Linked DNA regions of Homo sapiens: region 1 is linked to region 2. The links are contacts of gene promoters, found by promoter capture Hi-C in human tissues and cell types (Jung and others, 2019). All regions are on one chromosome and are shown on one strand. Each heading gives the region's core, a stretch centred on a gene start or on the middle of the fragment in contact. The rest is flanking DNA. Distances are from core to core; before and after follow the strand shown. Region 1 holds the start of RNASEH2A (ribonuclease H2 subunit A). Region 2 holds the start of ZNF20 (zinc finger protein 20).

Region 1 (4,762 bases), core at 1,787-4,286, 670 kb before region 2:
GCCTGTAATCCCAACACTTTAGGAAGCCGAAGTGGGAGGATCGCTTGAGGGCAGGTGGTTGAGACCAACCTGGGCAACATATGGAGACCCTGTTTCTACAAAAAATAAAAAGTTAGCTAGGTGTAGTGGTGAATAAAGGCTTGAAGGAGGTGAGGAAGTGAACTGTGCAGAGATCTGGGGAAGAGGGCTCTAGGTGTGAGAACAGCCAGTACAAAGGCCCTGAGCTGGGACCAGGTTCATGATGCTGGGCCCATGCATGGGGGCCTTTGGCTGCAGCACCGAAGAGAGGGTCCAAGAGCTGCTGGGGGAAAGTGGTATCTCCACAGCACTACTGTTTTCAGAAACAACCTTTATTTTTTGTTTACCAGCTGACCATCTTTCATGTTTTATTTTTTTATTTTTTATTTTTAGTAGAGATGGGGTTTCACCATGTTGGTCAGGCTGGTCTCGAACTCCTGACCTGATGATCCGCCCGCCTCGGCCTCCCAAAGTGCTGGGATTACAGGCGTGAGCTACTGCGCCCAACCTCCAGCTGACCATCTTTCTGCCCAGGCTAGGCCCTGAACGCCTACGGGTAGGGCCCTTGTCTGTCTACACCAGTTACTGTATCGCCAGCTCTGCATTTGGGCCTGGTCCTCAGGTCCCTCCTCAGCAGGGTCTACCTTGCTATAATTCCTTTCTTTCTTCTTCTTTTTGTGGAGATGGAGTCTCGCTATGTTGCCCAGGCTGGTCTGGAACTCCTAGCCTCAACCAATTTGCTCACCTCAGCTTCCCAAAGTGCTGGGATTACAGGCGTGAGCCACCATACCCAGCATACAATTCCTACGTCAAGGTTATTTTGCCTTGTTATTCTCTCAGAACGGTCCATTCTTTCATTGAGAGCATTCGAGGCAATGCTGATTTATGTTTTTCTCTGGTAATTTAATGTAATTCTGCCCCACTCGACTGTGAATTTTCCTGATTTAATTTCCACTGTGATCGGAAAACTAAATGTCGAGATGTGCATTTCAAAAAGACTACCTTCTGTTGCTGCTTGGGGAACAGATTGGAGGGGATAGGAGGGTGAGGGACGAGAGACGACACTCAGCAGGTGTCCAGGGAGTGGGGGGTGTCCTGGGCTAGGACAGAGGTGACAGGTAGACAATGTAGGATTTGTTCTGGAGACTGAGCCTTTAGGATGAGGGAGAGATTAGATGGAGACGGGACTAGGGGCTACACTGTGGTCGTCAGTGTGGCACACATTTAGGGCAGAAACAGGAGCACGAAATCAACAGTAGCAATGAATATGCCCGAGGCACTCCAGACGTATCTGATGCTGAATCTGCACACTGCACATTTTTGCCCACATTTATTTTTTATTTTATTTTTATTTTTATTTTTCGCTCTGTCCCCCAGGCTGGAGTGCAATGGCGCGATCTCACCTCACTGCAACCTCCGCCTCCCGGGTTCGAGCAATTCTTCTGCCTCGGCCTCACCAATAGGTGGGATTACAGGCACCCGCCACCATGCTGGGCTAATTTTTTGTATTTTCAGTAGAGATGAGGTTTCACCATGTTGGCCAGGATGGTCTTCAACTCCTGACCTCAGGTGATCTGCCTGCCTCAGCCTCCTGAAACGCTGGGATTACAGCCGTGAGCCACTGCGCCTGGTCTCCCATTTTTAGTTTATTTTTTATTTTTTATTTTTTTGAGACAGGGTCTTGCTCTGTTGCCCGGGTTGGAGTGCAATGGCACAATCTTGGCTCACTGCAACTTCTGCCTCCTGGGTTCAAGCGATTCTCCTGTCTCAGCCTCCTGAGTAGCTAGGATTACAGGCGCCTGCCACCACGTCCAGCTAATTTTTGTATTTTTAGTAGAGACGGGGTTTCACCATGTTGGTCAGGCTGGTCTCGAACTCTTGACCTCCGGTGATCTACCCGCCGCGGCTTCCCAAAGTGCTGCGATTATAGGCGTGAGCCACTGCGCCCTGCCTCCATTTTTGAGTTGGGGGGCTTCCTTTGTCACCCAGGATGGAGTGCTGTGGCATGATCATGGCTCACTGCAGTCTCGAACTCCTGTTTTGTCCCCATTTTATCCTGAGATGACCAAATGGGGACAACTTACAGTTAACTCACCTGGGTGACGTTCACGCCCTGGTCCAATGCATACTGTATAAGCCCAGTGGCTGTATCATGTGACAGGGAGTTCAGGTTGTATTTGACCCTGTGGTGGGGAACAGAGCCCAGTTAATCTCATTCTAGGAACAAAGCTTGGTCAGCCCATGCTGGCTGCCCCTCCCGGGGACCCCTCACCGCCCAAGCATGCTGGTAGAGATGAGGTTTGGAGACAGCACATCCAGCGCCCAGCCGACAAAGTCCGTGTCCTCCATTTTCGCAAACAGCCTTTCCCGCTCGCTCTCCAATAGGGTCTTTGAGTCTGGGAGGAGGTTTGGAAGAGAAGGGGAACAGCTGGTTCTCCCAGTTCCTGCCCTCCCCTTTCAGTTCTCACCTGCCCCTGCACATACCCAGGAATCCCTTCCCCAGACGCACACCTCGGGCTCACCTGCCACTTTCAGCGCCTCCAGATCTGCCAGGCGAGGCAGGGGACAATAACAGATGGCGTAGACCATGGGGCCTGGGGAGAAGGGGTGTCAGTTTTCTGGCAGCCGGGGTCCAATCACTGAGCCCGTGAAAGTTGCCATTCATCCCTGTTCTATCATCACTGCTTCTTTAGGTGCCATCACCACGACCACATCCCCTCCCTTGGTGCAGTGCAATCCCGACTCCCGTTTCCCGCATCCTCCGTACCACGCCCCTCCCCTCCCTGGCCCTAGGGGCGCACCCAGCACGGGGCCCCTGCCCGCCTCATCGACGCCCAGGACGCAAGGCTCCTTGCGGCACACCGCGGGCACAGGCGAACTCAGGCGACAGCGGCCTGTATTGTCTCTCTCCAGCTCGCTGAGATCCATGCCGCCTCAGCCGCCACCACCAGCTGCAAGAACTAATACTGCAGGAGCGGGTCTCGGCGCGCGTTTTCCGCGGGCCTCGAAGCGGCGCCTGCTTCCGGCCAATCCGCGGGCAGAACACGCCCCTGGCGCTCCCGCCGCCGTGGACGCTTACGCAGCCGACGCCGACGTCGCTGCCGTGCGCCCTCCTGGGAATTGTAGTCCCGAAGGGCTATGGCCGAACACTCAGCTTGGGGAATTCGGTGGACGGGGTCACTTTGCAAGCTCTGCTTCACGGTCTCTGGGGCCCCGCCTGCGTGGCCCGGTGGGAAGAGGGGGAAATAAGAGGGAAACTGAGACGTAGCTTCGAAGACCCAGCCTAACGGGGAACTAGAGAGTCAAATATCACCCCACTCCCAGGACACGGGTCACCGCATCACTGGGTCCCCAACTGCCACTTGGATTCAGGCCCTGTACTTGCGGTCCCTGCTTCTGTACACATTCTAAGTCCCCTGGACCAGGTAGCCCCGCTTCCACTAAACCCAGGCTTTTGGATTTGGAGTCCCCAAACTCCCTCTCTTGGTTGCTCCCTTCGGCCCACCTCCACTCCGTGCAAGATCTGTGCTTCCTAACCTCTGTCTCATTCAGGCCAAGCCTTCCCCACCCCCGTTGGAGATCACAGACCTCGGTGGACTCCTGCTCAGGGTCTCTGCTCCCTATAGAAGCTCATTCCTCCCAACTTAGAATGAATGTCCCCACCCCCACCCCTCGACCCACTTTTTTTTTTTCTTTTTTTTTTTTTTGAGACAGAGTCTCGCTCTTGTCGCCCAGGCTGGAGTGCAATGGCGCCATCTCCGCTCACTGCAAGCTCCGCGTCCCGGGTTCACGCCATTCTCCTGCCTCAGTCTCCCGAATAGCTGGGACTACAGGCGCCCGCCACCACACCCGGCTAATTTTTTGTACTTTTTAGTAGAGATGGGGTTTCACCGTGTTAGCCAGGTTGGTCTCGATTTCCTGACCTTGTGATCCGCCCGCCTCGGCCTCCCAAAGTGTTGGGATTGCAGGCGTGAGCCACCGCACCCGGCCTTCTTTTTTTTTTAGACAGGGTCTCTCTCTGTTGTCCAGGCTGGAGTGCAGTGGCGCGATCTTGGCTCACTGCAACCTCCACCTCCTGGGCTGACGCGATCCTCCCACCTCAGTCTCCCAAGCAGCTGGACTACAGGTGCACACCACACCACCATGCCCGACTATTTTTGGTATTTTTTGTAGAGACGGGGTCTCATTATGTTGCCCAGGCTGGCTTCAAACTCCTGGGCTCAAGCGATCCGGTCGCCTCAGCCTCCCAAAGTGTTGGGATTACAAGCCTGAGCCAGCCACAGTGCCTGGCATCCACCACTTCTATTCCCTGGGCTCACTGGGGCTCATGTCCTCTGCCTGTGGGTTCCCGCCCCTTACCAGGCTCATGCCCCTTCCTCAGGGTCCTAGTTCATTGTCTCTTTATCTCCTTTTACTCCTCTTCGCCTCCCCCTCCACTTTTTTTTTTTTTTTTTTTTTTTTTTTTTTTTTGAGACAGGATGTTACTCTGTTGCCCAGGCTGGATAGCAGTGTAGCGATCTCGGCTTATTGTAACCTTTGCCTCCCAGGCTCAAGCGATCCTTCCTCCCCATCGTACCGAGTAGCTGGGACCACAGGCATGTGCCGCCACGCTCATCTAACTTAAATGTTTTTGTTTGTTTGTTTGTTTGGTTGGTTTTTTTTGAGACAGAGTCTCGCTCTGTCGCCCAGGCTGGAGTGCAGTGGCGCGATCTCGGCTCACTGCAGGCTCCGCCTCCCGGGTTCA
Region 2 (4,958 bases), core at 5-2,504:
TCACCATGTTGGTCACGCTGGTCTCCAACTCCTGATCTCAGGTGATCCAGCCACCTCGCCCTCCCAAAGTGCTGGGATTACAGGCTTGAGCCACAGCGCCCAGCCACTACTGCCTCACTTTCATGCAGTTAAATAATCTTGGACACTTCCTCCTCGACTTTATACATACACACTGGAGGAGAGCTTTGCTCGTGTGTTATTCTCGCAGTGGGATTGAGGATGTTTGTCTCATGGAAACTGATGAATGATGTGAGAAGCAGGTGAATAACCTGCAGGGGGCAGCAGAGACCGACGCCAGGGACGGGACGCTGAGGCTAGTATGGATCCTGCCAAGGAGTGAAGTGGAGTTCTGGGTGCTTCCTGGGCAGCCGCCCTCCCCTGCAGGTGGCTTGCAGCTGCTCAGAGCAGATCCAGAAAGAGTGTGGGTTCTGACATGCTGCAGCGCCCTGGAAAGCAGGAGACCCACGTGCAGGTGCACTTCAGGAGTTCTGTCCTTTCTGCGGCTGTACATCTGGAATCTGGGGCGGTTTTCGGGAGCAGTGTTTTGGGTTTGACATGCATAGAGTCCCTGGGGTCAGACTGTAATTTGCATATCTGAAGAAAATCCGTAAAGATCAAGTTCAGGGAAATAACTGTTTGGGACCTCTCCTGGAGAAGGGGCTTATGCAGTTGACAGTTTATTTAGGTCAGAAGCTTAAAATCACCAAGTGAGAGTTTTCTGCCGATGAAGATGAAGGTCTGGAAGGAGGGAGAGTTTCCACACTGTGAGGTGGGGTGAGATGTGTGAAAGCCTTGGCCATGTCTCATCCCTAATTCCGGGCCCCTGAAGGACAACTGCCTCTCCTTCTTGGTGCAGTCGTGCCTGGCCTGATCTGGGCTCCCCTTCCTGCTCTGAGGTCAGCACATCGCTCCATTGGACACTCAGTCTGGAATTCCCTGCACACACTTACAACCCTGTGCAGGACGAAGAAGCACTGACAGCCCATTGAATGAGGAAGAAGATAGTGCCCTGTGTAAAAATCAGGAGCAAATTTGGCTGAAAAGAAAATATCCAATGACCAGGGCTCAGGGAAGGAGTTGTCCCTTAGAGAGAAGCTGTGGCTAGAACCGATCAGTCCGGCTTTGCAGGGCTCGTTACCCAGGGCTTCTGCCGTCACTCAGTTCTGAGGGGGCGGGGCCTTGTACCTTGTCCAATCAGAAGCGCCGGGGCGGAGCCCGGCCAACGGTCCGTCCGGAAGGAGGAGGCCCATTCCAGCTTCTACTTTTGTTGCTATGCAGGTTGTTGTCGGGATACCAGATTTCCTACTCCGAGAGGCCCCGGGTCCCTCTGCCACAACTTCTGTCGCTCTGCCGCCTGCACCGTGACCCGCACTATTCACGGGAGCCCTAGAGAGGACACCGGGACACCCAGAAGCCGGGAAATGGTGAGTGTATGGGGCCGGAGTCCCCAGACGGGGGAGGGGCTGGGTGGAACCGGCCGGAAGCGGCTGTGGTGGGATCTGGGCCTCCTCGCCGCGCCTCCTGGATCTGGGACCCGAATCCCTCTGTCTCAGCTCGTCCCTGCGTCCCCTCGGCCGCAGGGTGCGGCTGGGCCGGCAGCCGGGACCCCGGGCGTCCTCCTGTTCTGTTCCTGCGCGGGCGACTGTGGGCCCCGACCCTGGAGCCCTCTCTGGGCAGCTCCGCGCCTGCAGCCCCGCGTCTCTTCAGATTTTGCGGGGACCACGGGAGGGTCATGGGGGAATCCTGCGGATTTTTTTTTCTGTTAAAGAGTTTGGGCCGGGCGCGGTGGACCATGCTTGTAATCCCAGCACTTTGGGAGGCCGAGGCTTGCGGATCACGAAGTCAGGAGATCGAGACCATCCAGGCTAACACAGTGAAACCCCGTCTCTACTAAAAATACAAAAAATTAGCCGGGCATGGTGGCATGCGCCTGTAGTCCCCGCTACTCAGGAGGCTGAAGCAGGAGAATCGCATGACCCCAGGAGACGAAGGTTGCAGTGAGCCGAGATCACGCCACTGCACTCCAACCTAGGGGACAGAGCGAGATTCCATCTCAAAAAAAAAAAAAAATTTAAAGAGTTTGAGCAAACAGCGATTCATGAGTGAGAAACGCCCAGTCATGATTTGTGGTTTTGGTACCAGAAAGTTTTAAGAAGAATTGCATTTTGTTAACGGTGGAGGGGGTCCAGGTTCTTGGCGTCTTGAACAAAGAATTGGACAAAACGCACAAAGCAAGGAAGGAATGAAGGGATTTAACACTCCACAGTGTGCAAGCGGGGCTGAGCACAGGGGCTCAAAGGCCCCGTTACAGAATTTTTGGGAGTTTAAATACCCCCTGGAGGATTCCATTGGTTACTTGGGGTATACTCTATGTAAAAGGAGAGGATGAAGTAAGGTTATAAAATCATTTACTTGGCTTACGCCCTATGGAGTAGGTATTTCCTTTCATAGCTGAAGTTTGAATAGGCCTTATGTTCCCTGCGTCCAGACCCTATTTTCCTGCCTCAATTTGAGTTTGATTTTGGTGTCCTTAGGTAGTTTCTTATAGCACTAAACACACTTCAGTCTAATTGCTGCTGCTTTAAATTTTTTCACACTGTCTATAGGGACTGGCTTCCTCCTGCATTTTCCTAATGTATGGGTCTCAAATCCTCCACCCTGCTACCCCGCCCTAACTCTTCAGCAGTTTGCAGTAACATCTTAAATTTTCAATTACTTTTCCGCATCTCCAAACATTAACTCCCCTTCTCCAACTCACAGTATTATCAACTTTCTTTTTTTTTTGAGACGGAGTTTCGCTCTTGTTGCCCAGGCTGGAATGCAATGGCATGATCTTGGCTCATTGCAACCTCTGCCTCCCGGGTTCAAGTGATTCTCCTGCCTCAGCCTCCTGTATCAACTTTCTTTATTGTAGAGTATATTTCTTCATCCTTTCTTTCACATAGATGCAGTATTTTAGTGGTTTATCATCTTTTCACAAGGTCATGGATAACTTTTTTTAAAATATTTGTGTTCTGTTTCTGAACATTTCACATAGAATAGAGAATAACCACTTGATACTCCAGTGAAAAACCTCTGTTCCTCTCCTCTTATCTTCGTAAGGCACAGACACCATCTCAGAATGTCTTTGGGTTGTTTCCTTTTTTTTTTTTTTTTTTGAGAGAAAGTCTCTCTTTGTAACCCAGGCTGAATTGAAGTGGCGTGGTCTTGGCTCACTGCAACCTCCGCCTCCCAGGTTCAGGTGATTCTCCTGCCCTCAGTCTCCCGAGTAGCTGGGTTTACAGGTATGCGCCACCATACCCCATGTATTTTAAGTAGAGATGGGGTTTCACCATGTTGGTCAGGCTGGTCTCGAACTCCTGAGCTCAAATGATCTGCCTGCCTCAGCCTCCCAAAGTGCTGGAATTTTACAGGCGTGAGCCACCGTGCCTGGCCTGTTTCCTTTTTGAAAACTTTACAGGGTGATGTGTCTTCAGGAGTCCCAATCTATCTTTTCCTGGTCCTGGGTTTCAGAACCGCCTGGGGCTGAACCAAAATGCCCACAGCTCCCATCTCTCCTGGCCTACTGAATATCAGCCCCTGTGTCAGTCCTCCCAGAGGATAGCCTGAGGCAGGGTGTGGGATCTCCCAAAGGAGCAACTGAATTTCCCAAATGGGAGGAGACTCCTGGTACACTCTTCATCTAGATAGCCAACCCCTTGGGATGCTCAGTTTTTCTCCCCCAGTCCCAGCTTCCATTATTTGGAGACACATAGCTGGTCAGCCAGTTGGATGTTGCTATTAAGGGAAAGGTGTAGGTGAAGTGAGCCACAGCAGAGTCATCTCAACAAAGCCATAAAGCCATGACATAACAGTGCATTATCACATCCCAGACAGATGAGGGCAGCACACCTTGCAGGGCAACACAGAGTGGGGGGAACATCCAGGATGCACATTCAACCAGCAGGTGGGGAGAAAGACAGACAGGGACTTTTGGGCCAGAGTTTTTCTTGGGGTCCAGGGCAATGCCCAAGGAGGTTTCTCTTAGGGAGTTGTTTCTGATAGATTTGGAGCAAGCAGGTGCTAGTTCTGTGAAGTCAGGCTGTGATTAACAGGTGGTCTGTGCCATCCACGTGGGTATAAGGGTCAGTGGGGCAAGTCAAGTTGGTCTGTCTAGCTTTTCCACAGTGAGGTCGTCACCAGGAGGCAGCTGTGTAAGTCACATATGTGGGTTGAGCACATGCAGGAACTGGGAGGAGGTGGATAACTGGAAACTGTTGAGGTCAAGTGCAGCTTTCTTCTTCTTCTTTTTTTTTTTTTTTTCTGAGACAGTCTCTTTCTGTCGCCCAGGCTGGAGTGAAGTGGCGCTCTCTCAGCTCACTGCAACCGCCGCTTCCCGAGTTCAAGCGATTCTCCTGCCTCAGCCTCCCGAGTAGCTGGGATTACAGGCACGCACACACCCGGCTAATTTTTGTGTTTTTTAGTAGAGAGGGAGTTTCACCATGTTGGCCAGACTGGTCTTGAACTCCTCACCTGAAGTGATTGGCCTGCCTTGGCCTCCCAAAGTGCTGGGATTACAGGCATGAGCCACTACACACGGCTTGAGTACGGGTTTCTTCTGTTATAAGAAAGTGAAACCCATAATGAAAATGCATGGTAAGGTAACATAAGAAGTCACGGTAACAGGCAACTCTAGAATTAATTCATATGGAGATGATGGGCTTCAAAGATTGTTTGTTCTCCTGTAGGTAACCATCTGTCCCTGTTCCTTCTGGTAAGTGAGGACCACTTGCATAATTGGCTGGTGATACCTGCTTTGTCGTGGTTTCACTATTTTCAGAATCTGCTGTTTTCCATTAGTCTATCTTTCCATCTGTTAATACCATTTTCTCTTGATTAGTATAGATTTTATTTATTTTATTTTATTTTATTTTTTCGAGACGGAGTTTCACTCTTGTTGCCCAGGCTGGAGTGCAATG

Evidence for each region. The method cuts DNA at HindIII sites, captures the fragments that hold promoters and counts their contacts. A contact is called where the count stands out against the background at its distance.
Region 1: a contact is called between the fragment with the promoter of RNASEH2A here and the fragment with the promoter of ZNF20 in region 2, in 1 of the 25 tissues and cell types used here (lymphoblastoid cells).

What each region holds. Positions count from the first base shown.
Region 1 is chr19:12,804,858-12,809,619 of GRCh38, reverse strand. It overlaps RNASEH2A (ribonuclease H2 subunit A), which reads right to left and starts at 3,036. Exons shown (of 8, transcript NM_006397.3): 1 at 2,820-3,036; 2 at 2,541-2,612; 3 at 2,291-2,414; 4 at 2,114-2,201. The coding sequence starts at 2,946. RefSeq lists enhancers at 2,933-2,982, 3,183-3,312 and a cis regulatory region at 2,757-3,789. The HindIII fragment of the contact is 8,217 bases long and covers 1-4,762 here.
Region 2 is chr19:12,136,646-12,141,603 of GRCh38, reverse strand. ZNF20 (zinc finger protein 20) reads left to right here and starts at 1,254. Exons shown (of 4, transcript NM_021143.4): 1 at 1,254-1,424. The coding sequence starts at 1,422. ZNF625-ZNF20 (ZNF625-ZNF20 readthrough (NMD candidate)) reads left to right here. Exons shown (of 8, transcript NR_037802.1): 5 at 1,279-1,424. RefSeq lists silencers at 1,468-1,677, 3,383-3,485. The HindIII fragment of the contact is 9,607 bases long and covers 1-4,958 here.